3 separate regions of the Homo sapiens genome follow, and all the other regions are linked to region 2. The links are contacts of gene promoters, found by promoter capture Hi-C in blood cells and fetal thymus (Javierre and others, 2016). All regions are on one chromosome and are shown on one strand. The core of a region is centred on a gene start or on the middle of the fragment in contact, and the rest is flanking DNA. Distances in the headings are between cores, read along the strand shown. Region 1 overlaps PRKCH (protein kinase C eta). Region 2 holds the start of TMEM30B (transmembrane protein 30B). Region 3 overlaps PRKCH (protein kinase C eta).

Region 1 (3,873 bases), core at 1,009-3,508, 240 kb before region 2:
GAAGGACACTCCATAAACTTTGCTCCAAAGTACTTAAACTTATAAAAAGCCACATGTTTTACCCCTTAAAGATAGACTCAAGAGGGAAAAGAAGAAACCTGAAATCAAAATTTAAATTCTTCTCTTTGATGAAGCTGGAGAAAGAAAGTGGTTTTGAAGGGTCAATTATTAAACAACGAGGACCAAGCAGAACACTTATCCTCATGTTGGCTTGCATCCAAACGGAAGAGCAGAACATGGAGAGGGTGACTCAAACAAAGCCAAAGATTATAGAGCCATTTACAGTCATGGTCAGCTTCCACTCTAAAGGGAAATCATGCCTTTATTTTTTTTAAAGCAAAAGAAGTCACCCTAAGCCTCCTGACTTTAGTTTGAAATATGCAGAGGTCAGTTTTTGGCTTAGGAGTACCTCAGCTTCCTATGCCAACATGTAACTCAGCAGCTGAACTTAACAAGGCTACACAATGAAGATTACAAGTTCATACAGGGCAGAGGCTCAAATACTAAAATGCCAAAACCACAGTTACCGGCTTGCCATTCATTAGCTCATTGAGCACCGGTATTTAATAGCTACAGCTTTTGTCATGCAAGCATAGAAGGGTAGAAAGAGTTATTCTATCCTCTGTGCTTGTCTGAAAGCTACATTGTTCTTGCTGGGTAATCAGGGTTACTTAAAATGCCCACAGTAGTTTCAGAGAGAATTCCCAAGTGATTGAAGACAAAGGAGATTCAGAAATTGGATTTATTTTGTTTCCACCATAAGCTATCCTGAGAGTAATAAAACAGATTGACATGAGTCTTACTGCTTAGATCACTAGAGTCAGTTACTCTTCCAAAAGAAATAAAGGAAAGCGAGTTGAGAGCTGGCTCCTTGAACAAGAATGAATCTAGGAGGCTATTTATATGAACTATTTTTAACATATTTTTCAACTTTTATTATGGGAAATTTCAAAACAGACAAAAGTAGGGAGAATGACACAACTCCCATACTGATCACACAGCCTCGGCACCTGCCAATGCACGTCCAAACATGCTCCCTCGCTACATCGACTCCCTCCCTCCCTGATCCATCTTTTATCAGATTATTTTGAAACAAATCCAGGATATGAGCTATTTCATCTATACACATTTTAATATCTGAATCTCAAAGATAATAATTCTTTAATAGAGTACAACTTTGATACCCATTATCATAAAATACACAGTCAATTTATGATTGTCAGCATACTGCCATTTGTCTGTTGCTCATTTGGGGGTGGTGAGTCTGTGGGTCTGTCTAGAAAACCTGGAAAAAAGCTTTTGTGAATAACAAGAATAACAGTGTCTTCAGTGGTTAACATATACTGAATGTTCATCAAATGCTAAGTGCTTTATCTATATTCTTATTTTATCCTCAAAATAACTCTATGAAGTAGGCTCTACCCCAAGATTATATAGCTAGACAGGGGTAAAATCAGGATTCAGATTTACTTCTGCTCACCTCCAAGGCCTGGGCTTGTGACTTACTACACCAGGCCCAATCCCTTCTATGTAGCAGTGTCACCGGCCAATCCCCCGGATAGATTGTTTCCCAAAAGGACTTTAATTGAAACAAGAACCACCTGAGGGAATCAATAAATATTCTAAGATGGCACTATGATAGAGGGATGTTTTATGCATATTACTATGAAATGCATAATCGAAATACTGCAAAGCAAGGTTTTTTTCTTAGCTTGTGCATAGAGTTCAATGGATTTTACAGAGTCCTTGAGGATACAGGCATAGGGGAGTGCACAGCAAATCTCTCAAGTGGTCAAATGTGCAGATCATTTGCTGCCTTCCACTGAGGAGGAGGAACTAGCATGTAGGTAAGTGTGAAAAGGGGGCATCTGCCAAGTGAGTGAATGTGGGTTATGGTCTTAATTTTAGAATAAAACTACTTAGGACTGGCTTGTGTTTTGAGTGCCTGGGTTTATACTTAAAGTTTTTTCAAAGCAAGATGGATTGTATTAAATGGGCAAAAGACTTTTGAAAAGTCACTGAATTAGCAAAAGCATAACATTTGGTTTCATCGTGAGTTAGACAGTAGTGCCATTCATGCATCACCTGACACGAGATATCCATCCCTTCACCCACCCAACCATTCTTTAGTATTGTCCATGAGCCTGGCCATATGCCAGGATGTTGGGATACAATAGTAAGCAAAGGGGGCACCATCTCTACCCACAAGGGGGTTAATGTCTGGTGGGAGAAGCAGACAGATCACCACACAACTAAATTTACAATTATCAACTGTGATGAGTGCAATGAGGAGAAAACATGGGAATAGATCAAGGGATGGCCTGACCTAGCACTGGGGGAAGATTTCCCAGGAAAGTGACATTTGAACTGAGCTGTGAAGATTATTAACCAAGTGAAGAGACAGAAAGAAGGGAAAGTGAGGGTAAGGAGAATTTCAGAAGGAAGGAACAGAGGTGAGGGGGTTCAGTCAAGAAATGAAGACTAGTGTGGTTGGAGTCCTGGGTGGCGAGAGAAGAGAGCATGGAGACAGGAGAGAGCAGGGACCAGATGAGGCAGGGGCCAGTGAGGATTTCAGTCTTTAGCCCAATAAACCATGGAAAACTCTGACTCAGGAGAGGGATGGCATTAGATTTTCGATTTTACAGGACTCCATATCAGAGGAGTTGAGAATGAACATGAGGAGATCATTTGGGAAGCTACTAGAGTATCCAGGAGATAAATGATGGTGGCCTGGTATAGGGAGGGTGGTAAGGTAAAGAGAACTAGATGTGTCAAGAACTACTGGGGGAAAGCAATGGGATTTAGCAATGGAAGGATGTAAAGGATAAAGGGAAGGAGGCATCAGCAGGTTCTGGATCACAGAATTTATTTTGGACAGATTGAGCTACTTTTTTTAGACATACAGGTGGAGATATTTAAGCAGCTGAATACACATGGCTAGATGTCAAAGGGAAGGCTGGTTCGGAGCTATAAATTTGAGAGTCATTACCTGGGTGTGGATGAGTTCACCTCAGGAGAAGGAATGAAATAAGGAGAGAGCCTGGGACTGAGCCTTGGGAAGAGGATCTCCTGAGGCCAAGATCTCTGCTCTTTTTTACACTGAGACTACAAAAACTAGTGACAAATTATACTTAGAGTAGGGTAGCAGAGCTGTGTGCCTAGAGAGTGGGGCCCAAATCTTTTGCCTCCATATGGGCCACCTATAGTCCAGGTAAGCTTTAAAAAGATTAAGGCCGGGCACAGTGGCTTACGCCTGAATCCCAGCCCTTTGGGAGGCCGAAGCGGGAAGATCACTTGAGCCTGGGAGGTCAAGGCTGCAGTGAGCCATGATCACACCATTGCACTCCAGCCTGGGCAACAGAGTGAAACTCTATCTTAAAAAAAAAAAATTAATAAAATAAAATAAAAAGATTAGAAAAACATCAATCTTGTACATTCAGAATCACCCAATGGATTATTTTCAGGTTAAATTCTCAATCTCTGCTATGTGATATGATACTCTTGTGAGTGTAAAATTAAGAATCTTATTTTACAAAGATATTGGTTGCTGCATCATATATAATTTGAAAAAAAGCTAAATTATGTATCAACCGTGGAATGGCTAAATAAATAATGGTATTTCTATGACAGAATCTTATGAAAGCTGCCAAATTTTTATGAAGGACTAAAAATGTAAGGAAATGTTTATAATAGAATTTTTAAATGTTATCTGAAAATGTTTTTTTGATTATAAAAGTAATATTTTCATTATATAAAATTGATCATTCCTGAAAAAGGTATAGAGAAAATGATGATGGGTTCAGTCTTTCAAACTTTTCTTCTCAATGCTACACTAACACAATATTATACAGTAAAATACTTTTCTCAACAATT
Region 2 (4,251 bases), core at 1,419-3,918:
TTCCCTCAGGATACACACTTCTCTGACATCTAAAAAAGAAGCCTTTCCTTTAGGATACATGCTCTTCTAGACAGTTATCACTTGCCTTTCTCCTTCCCTTTCCACACATTTCTAAAAACAGGCTTTCCCCTTTAGAACCCCATTCTCTCTTTTTTTATTTTATTTTTATTTTTTGAGACAGGGTCTTGTTCTGTTGTCCAGGCTGGAGTACAGTGGCGCAATCATAACTCCCTGGTTAAAGCTATCCTCCCACCTCAGCCTCTTGAGTAGCTGGGACCTCAGGCACATGCCACCACACCCAGATAATTTGTTTTTATTTTTTGTAGAAACAAGATCTCGTTATATTGCCCAGGCTAGTCTCAAACTGCTGGGCTCAAGTGATCCTCCTGCCTTGGCCTCCCGAAGTGCTTGAATTATAGGCATGAGCCACCATGCCCAGCAAGACCTCATCTCCAAAAAATAAAAATAAAAATAAAAAAAGAGTGTCTTCCTATCTTGCTATCTGCTTCCCTTTCCCTGCACCTGATGGTAACCTCATTCCTGCCACACAAACCACCCAAAGTGTTCCCACAAAAGTCAAACCCCATAATTCCTTTTCATTTATCTCACTTGAACCCTCAGCTGTGTTTAACTCTGCTGACCATTCCTTGTCTTGAAATATTCTCTTTTGACTTTGAAAATCTGTCACCTTAATTAGTGGAATGAATAAACTAGTACCTTTAGGCCATCCAGGAATAGGAGAAAAGGAGGAAAGGCTCTGAGCTCAAGAATGGGGCTTGCCCTTTTAGGGGTGTGGTGGTGATCTACTAGAAAAAAGACTTAAGATTTACCAGATAGGCTTGGTGTGATGGCTCACACCTATAATCCCAACAATTTGGGAGGCTGAGGCAGAAGGATCTCTTGGGCTCAAGAGTTTGAGACAAGCCTGGACAACTGAGGGAGACACCTCTCTCTCAAAAAAAAAAAAATCTACAAAAGTTGTGAAAACTGAATTCCTTCCTAGAGACGAGTTTTGTGGACTAGTGATTCAATGAAACGGGTGGGTGGAACTCAACCATAATGATACAAAGAACTATTTATTCTTTTATTGAAAAAAAGGGTGACTGGAGACTGGATCACACTGTGGGAACTTGCTGAGAATTTTGGAACTTCCTCTCTTTGGGTATGATAAGAAGTGAGGGAATTGAAATTCAAGTCACTTGAATTTCCCTCAGTCTTCTATAATACCTGGTTTCCAACTTGCATTCATTTAACAAACTGGAATCAATGTTCCATTATTAAATCAATATTACTTTTTAATTTTAATGTGACTTGTAGAATGCAATTTGATACTTGATTACACCCTATGATTCATAGCTATTATTGGCTATTTTGATTGTTTCTTACTCCTAATATGTCCCCTATCAAACTGCAAATGCCTTGAGGTCAAAGGTCCTTTTTTGTCTAATTAGCATAGGACTGAACACTTGGAAGATGCTAACAACATTCCTCTGTTAAATTTAATAAGGATTTTAACTTTCCAAGTTCAATGGGTTTTGAATGACTCCTGAATATAATATATTATGCTAGGTGTAGTGTAATAGAGAAAACATTTGTATTACTTGCATTTTACAAGCTGGAGGAGAAGCAAGAACACAATACCTAGGGAAGATTTAGATTTAGTAAGAAATCAGAACGTCCCAATACCCCCTTGTATATGTTTTACCAACCTAGATTTAAAAAAAAAAAAAAAAAAGCCAGAATCCCAGGCAACATAGGGAGCTAATTTGAGTTCTTTTTATAATAAATCCTATAAATCCTTGTAGTTTACTTCCTTAGGCCAGACACTCCAGATGTTTTTGTGGATAGCAGCTAGGTCTCCTGGGACCTTGGATTGGGCCTTTCTCTAGTCAGGCAAATAATCTGAAAAGAAAACGAAATCACATGTAGTCCAGCACATTTTTTCCTTTCTTGGTTTCTCCACACCAGCTAAGAGTTATTTAAAGGCTCTGAACCTCTCCAGCCTTTGATTCTTTTTAAGGATGATTTTATTTTTAGAGAACTTTCCACATTTCCTAGTTATACAGCCAGACTGGGTGATCTGGCCAGAAAATCATTTTCCCTTAAAAAAAAAAAAAAAAAAAAAAAAAAAAAAAGCTAAAATTTGAACGCAGGCGTTGAATTCGAAACAGATTTATCATAACGTAATTCCCTGGACACTCCCAACTTGAGACTGAAAGCTGGGCGAAAGCGGTTTGTGAAGCTAACCTAAAAGACAAAATGGTCTAGAGCCACCTTTTCCCCGCAAATAACAGAGGATTAAGGATCTGAAATCTTCAAGCCTCCAGGACCACGGTGCAAGCCCTCAGCAAAAATTTCTGCTGGAGGCCGGAGCGCCTTTTGATTTCGGGAGACTGGCCCAGGAACTCTAGTCACTTGGAAGGCGGAAGAGAAGGTGGTACCTGAGCCAGGTAGGAGCCACTCAGAGGCAGCCCGGGGCCGCCACTCACCTAGGAGAGGAGGTGGAGTCCGATGACCTGGACTGAGAGGAAACGCGAGACTGAGTCTACCAGGTGAGGTAAAAAACACCCACCTGCTCACCTCGGAAGGGGCGGGCGAGGTGCGGCTCCCGGTGACCCGCGGGGGTGCAGCGCACCTGGGCGGAGGCGGAACTGGGAGGGTGTGGGCACTGCTCGTAGGGCCTGGAACTAAACTCACCTGTGACGGAGGCAGAGGAGGGGCCCGGGCAAAAACCCACCTGAGCTGGCGGGAAACCCGACCCGCGAGCAGTCCCCGGGCTTGCGCGGCGCGGAGAGGGAGGCGCCCCGCGGCGGGGCCCCCACTCGGTCAGCCCGCGCGTCGGTCCCCGCGCGGCCGCCATGACCTGGAGCGCCACGGCCCGGGGCGCCCACCAGCCCGACAACACCGCCTTCACTCAGCAGCGCCTCCCCGCCTGGCAGCCGCTGCTGTCGGCCAGCATCGCGCTGCCGCTCTTCTTCTGCGCGGGCCTGGCCTTCATCGGCCTGGGCCTGGGCCTCTACTACTCCTCCAACGGCATCAAGGAGCTGGAGTACGACTATACAGGCGACCCGGGCACCGGTAACTGCTCGGTGTGCGCCGCGGCTGGCCAGGGCCGGGCGCTGCCGCCCCCCTGCTCGTGCGCCTGGTACTTCTCGCTGCCCGAGCTCTTCCAGGGCCCAGTGTACCTCTACTACGAGCTGACCAACTTCTACCAGAACAACCGGCGCTACGGCGTGTCCCGCGACGACGCGCAGCTGAGCGGACTCCCCAGCGCGCTGCGCCACCCTGTCAACGAGTGCGCCCCCTACCAGCGCAGCGCGGCCGGCCTGCCCATCGCGCCCTGCGGCGCCATCGCCAACAGCCTCTTCAACGACTCCTTCTCGCTTTGGCACCAGCGCCAGCCCGGCGGGCCCTACGTCGAGGTGCCGCTCGACCGCTCCGGCATCGCCTGGTGGACCGACTACCACGTCAAGTTCCGCAACCCGCCGCTGGTCAACGGCAGCCTGGCGTTGGCCTTCCAGGGCACGGCGCCCCCGCCCAACTGGCGCCGGCCAGTCTACGAGCTCAGCCCCGACCCCAACAACACCGGCTTCATCAATCAGGACTTCGTGGTGTGGATGCGCACGGCGGCGCTGCCCACGTTCCGCAAACTGTACGCGCGCATCCGCCAGGGCAACTACTCGGCCGGGCTGCCGCGGGGCGCCTACCGCGTCAACATCACCTACAACTACCCGGTGCGCGCGTTCGGCGGCCACAAGCTCCTCATCTTCAGCAGCATCTCGTGGATGGGTGGCAAGAACCCCTTCCTGGGCATCGCCTACCTGGTCGTCGGCTCCCTCTGCATCCTCACCGGCTTTGTCATGCTGGTCGTCTACATTCGCTACCAGGACCAGGACGACGACGACGAGGAGTGATTCCGGCTTTCCAGGGATCCCTCCTGCTTCTTGCCAAAACTCTTGCAAGGTGCTTTTGGCATCTCCTCCTCGCCCGTCACCCAATTCCAACCTCGCCTAGCTTTTCCTCCCTTTGTGAATGAGGGGACCAGATAAGGGAATTACCCCCCTTGCTCTTGGGGGGCTGCTAGACTGTCTTGCCGCGGGGAGGGATGTTGACTGCAGAGTGAAACATCCTTGCAAACTCTTCCCACCTCCTTCACGACACTGAGTTGCCATGTGAGGTTCTTCAAGTCTGAGAGTGGAAGGGATCCCTATGGAGACTCCTATTAAACCCCTATTAGAGGAAGAGATTGAG
Region 3 (4,338 bases), core at 968-3,467, 150 kb before region 2:
ATAAAGTATGTATACATTATCACAACTTAAAAGTAAGCTGATAGCACGATCATATGATCCCCGTGAAAGCAGGGCTCCTCTGTTTAAAATCTGTGTATTTTTCTCATTTACTTGAAGCTCAGGGACTGTTCTCTCTACCCCCACCCCAGCCTTCAAGCCCAGGTTGATCTTCCTTCCTCACAAAAAAGATTCTTACACAAACAACCTGTCCAACCAAAATCTTTTCCAGATAAACATATGTTTCCTGCTGAGAACTAAAAGAATCCTGCCCTTTAGTTTGGCTTATTCCATTTCCCTTTTGATTTTTTTTTCTCTCTTATCCACTGGTAGACTTCTAAAGTCCCTTTTAAGCTCTCAAGTTCTGGTTTCATGATTTTGGAAAAATCTTAAAGGATATTAGCCATGAGGAGTATGCTGCCGAGTCATTTCCTTCTCCAAGTGCATGGTGGAGAGAAAGCTCTGCTGCCTTCTTCATGTTTCTGATTCAACATGATTTTTAAAACTGCTGTACTGTTGCTCACTGTAAACAGACTAATTTGAAATCCAACACCAAAGATTAACCACCTTTATCACAAAACCAAGGTGAGAGCTTTGAACCTCGGCCACCATTTTTTGATAGTTTTTTTTTTTTTTTTTTGAAGAGGTTGGGGGGTGAGGGGAGGGAACTTAGAGGACAGGTCAATAGGTGCAGCAAACCACCATGGTACACGTATACTTATGTAACAAACCTGTACGCTCTGCACATGTATCCCCCCCACTTTTTTTTTATTAAGAAGAAATAAAGGAAAAAAAAAAAGAAAAAGGTAAAGGGGATCACGGTGGCTCACGCCTATTATCTCAGGACTTTGGGAGGCTGAAGTGGGAGGATCACTTGAGGCCAGGAGTACAAAACCAGTCTGGACAATATAGCGAGGGACTCTGGAAGTCATGTATTCTTTCTGTGCCTGGTGGCAGGCTTTTCTGGAAATGGAAAAGGCTGAGTCAAATAATCAGTGAAGTTCCTTCTAGCTCTTAAGAGTCCATGATCCCAGTGAAACTAGCGTTACTGCTGGGCGCAGTGGCTCGTGCCTGTAATCCCAGCACTTTGAGAGGCCAAGGCAGGAGGACTGCTTGAAGCCAGAAGTTTAAGACCAGCCTGGGCAACAAAGCAAGACCCTCTGTCTATTAAAAAAATAAAGTAAGAAACTAGCTTTCCAGAATGAGGGCAAAATAAAGATATTTCAGAAAACTGAGATTGTTCACTACCAAATACCTTCGCTAAATAAAGAATGTACTTGAAGAGAATCTACTTGAAGAAGGAGGGAAATGTTCGAGGGAAGGTTTGAGCTATACAAGAAAGTGGTATGTTAAAAAATTATAAACATGTAAGTAAATAGAAACAAAGAAGGATGGAATAACTAATAACATCTAGTTAATGGAGCTTCAAAAGAAAAATAAAAAGATATCAAAAATATCAAGGAAATGCACATAAGCCAGGAGGAAAGTGACTGGAGTTAAAAACATTCTAACATCCTTAGATTGCTCAGTAGGAGGGTAAAGTGGTAGCTAACTTTAGACTTAGTTACACAGACATGTTAAAATTCCAAGTATAATCACTTAAAAAAAAAAAAAAAGAGAGAGAGATTCTATCTTCCAAACCAATAGAGGTGGGAAAAAATGGAATTGGTAGAGACAGTGGTAGAGGGAGAATCTCAATAAACTTCTAGAAATAGGAAATCTAACCACCTGTTGTTTATAAAGCACAAACCTAAGACATAGGTAGAAAAAGTAGAAAGTAAATGAATTAAAGAAGATGCAAAGCAGGGCAAATACTAGCCAAAAGACATGCAATGCAGCCACATTAACGTCAGATAAAATACACTGTAAAAGAAAGAATTGCTAGAAATAAAAAGAAGTGATTGTATAATAAAAGGTTTTACCAGGAAAATATAACAGTATATTTGTATATATTCAGTAGCAGAGCTTTAAAGTAAACCAACAAACAGCATTTACTCATTACTGCAGAGCTATACTGTTGCAGAGCTGAGTGGTGTCCTAGGATTACATTCCCTTCTCTAAGCATGCATTCTAGAACACTCTAAAAAGAAAAAAAAATCCAAATGGCAACATTAGCAGCAGCGAATCCATATGGGTCTGCAGCAACTCGATTCTTGCTTCCTTGGAGGAAAGAATTTGGCCAGAGAGGATAAGGTAGAATGAGACCAAGGCAAGTTTTAGAGCAGGAGTTAAAGTATATTAAAAAGTTTGAGAACAGGAATGAAAGGAAGCAAAGTACACGTGGAAGAGGGCCAAGTGGGCAATTTGAGAGATCCGAGGACCCTGTCCGACGCTTGACTTGGGATTTTTACACAATGGCATGGTGCTGAGGTTTGTGTCTCTCCTCCCTTGGTTTTTCCTTGGGGTGGGCTGTCCGCATGTGCAGTGGCCTGCCAGCACTTGGGAAGGGCCGCATGTACAGTGTGTTTACTGAAGCTGTGCACATGTTCATTTGAGGCATTTTTCCCTTACCAATTGAGTGTTCCTAGAGGAAGGTCATACACCAGCTAAACTCCACCATTTTGTCTCTTAGCATGCAAGTTTGAGCCCACTCATCCAACGCCTGAGATCCTATGAGGAAGCTACTGATTGGCCGGGTGCCGCGGCTCACGCCTGTAATCCCAGCATTTTGGGAGGCCGAGGCGGGCGGATCGCGAGGTCAGGAGATCCAGACCATCCTGGCCAACATGGCGAAACCCCATCTCTACTAAAAATATAAAAAATTAGCCAGGCGTGGTGGCACGTGCCTGTAGTCCCAGCTACTCGGGAGGCTGAGGCAGGAGAATCGCTTGAACCCGGGAGGCAGCGATTGCAGTGAGCTGAGATCACGACACCGCATTCTAGCCTGGGCAACAGAGCAAGACTCCATCTCAAAAAAAAAAAAAGGAAGCTGCTGATTAAGAGCTTAAGGTGTTTTCTATCTACTGGGAGTCTGCTTTCCCTGGTGCAAGCTGTGACCAACTAGTATGTTAGTGAGACAGTTTAACAACCACCTGACCATCACCTGATGGTTGCCTGACATTCCTGTGGGGGAGGGGGGCCTCTCCTGCCCCGCTCATATCTGCCTAACTACTCTAACAGCAAGGTCAGATATAGTCCCTATTCTTTTATTCCACTGGCTGTTCAAAATCATACCATGGCTGGCATCTGCTTTTCTATTGACAGAGATATGCTTCATTTGTCTTGGGTAAATACCTAAGAACTGCTGGGTAACAAGGTAGTGGTCTGTTTAGTTCTGTAAGAAACTGCCAGACCATTTTTCAAAGCGGTTGTACCATTTTGAACTCCCACTAAAAATATGAAAAGTTCTAGTGCTCCACAGTCTCACCAACATTTAGTGTTGTTGGTCTTTTTCATTTTAGCCTTTCTAGTGGTATCTCATTGTGGTCTTAATTTGCATATCCCTAAAGCCTAAAATTGCTGAGCATGTTTCTATGTGTGTATTGCCCATTCATATTTCTTTTGAGAAAATGTCTGTTCAAATCTTTTGCTCATTTTTTTAAAATTGGGCTGTTTGTCTTTTCATTGAATCATGACTTTATTTAGGGGGACACAGTCACTGTTTTTCCTATTAAGAAAAGCAACATATGCCTCTACTCTTGATTCCATGGAATTTACCTGATAACTCTTTGCCCAAGACTATGTATGTGTAGACTGAAGGTAAAGAAGGTTTCAGAAAGGTTAGGGATCATGTTTACTTTTTCTGCATACATATTGGAAGACAGCGGGGTAGAGAGACTAAAACCTACAAAATCCCATCTATATAGTATTATTCTGGCCAGCAGATAGACAAAAATCACACTTCTGCCAAGTTTTTATACCGTCTCTAGCTGAATAAGAGAAACTAGTTAAATTTTAATATTTTAAAATTTTAATAAGATAATTCAAATTACATTGTTTCTGCTTCCTCTCTATTTACAATTCCTAGTACATATGGGTTTTTATTTTATTTTCCTGGCGTCTTTAGAATGGGTCTTGTTAGTTTCATTGTCAAGTTCTTTATTAATTGAAACAGATTTGATTTTAGTAACTGCCACTGTAACTAGCCAACTATGACACAGTCCACAAGACACACATTCTAGGATTCCCTGAGGCCCTGAAAACAATGGGTGTGACTATTCTCCATTATCTGAAAGTAATGTACTCAGTTATTGTACAGACTGATTTTTAAAAGAAATTCCTCAAATCCTTCTTTGATCACAAAGACAAAAAACAGTGGACGAGAGCATATGCTCTCTAACTGTAAAGCATTTATAAATGTTGCTTCACCATCTGTCTTTGAGAAACAGAAGGTTGCCTCAG

What was found. Contacts are between HindIII fragments. The CHiCAGO score rates a contact against its expected background, and 5 or more counts as called.
Region 1: a contact is called between a fragment that was not itself captured here and the fragment with the promoter of TMEM30B in region 2, in 1 of 17 cell types (total CD8 T cells). The highest score is 5.4, in total CD8 T cells.
Region 3: a fragment that was not itself captured here is called in contact with the fragment with the promoter of TMEM30B in region 2 in 1 of 17 cell types (total CD8 T cells); the score reaches 5.1 in total CD8 T cells.

The regions. Positions count from the first base shown.
Region 1 is chr14:61,521,090-61,524,962 of GRCh38, reverse strand. The region is part of intron 10 of PRKCH (protein kinase C eta); the gene reads right to left. Among named protein-coding and RNA genes, the nearest start is that of PRKCH-AS2, 22 kb to the left of the region's middle. The HindIII fragment of the contact is 1,920 bases long and covers 1,299-3,218 here.
Region 2 is chr14:61,279,755-61,284,005 of GRCh38, reverse strand. It overlaps TMEM30B (transmembrane protein 30B), which reads left to right and starts at 2,668. Exons shown (of 1, transcript NM_001017970.3): 1 at 2,668-4,251. The coding sequence starts at 2,859. The coding sequence ends at 3,914. It also overlaps a transcript of PRKCH not described here. RefSeq lists an enhancer at 3,243-4,206. The HindIII fragment of the contact is 12,699 bases long and covers 1-4,251 here.
Region 3 is chr14:61,429,343-61,433,680 of GRCh38, reverse strand. All of the region lies in intron 2 of PRKCH (protein kinase C eta), which reads right to left. Among named protein-coding and RNA genes, the nearest start is that of PRKCH-AS1, 110 kb to the right of the region's middle. The HindIII fragment of the contact is 5,538 bases long and covers 1-4,338 here.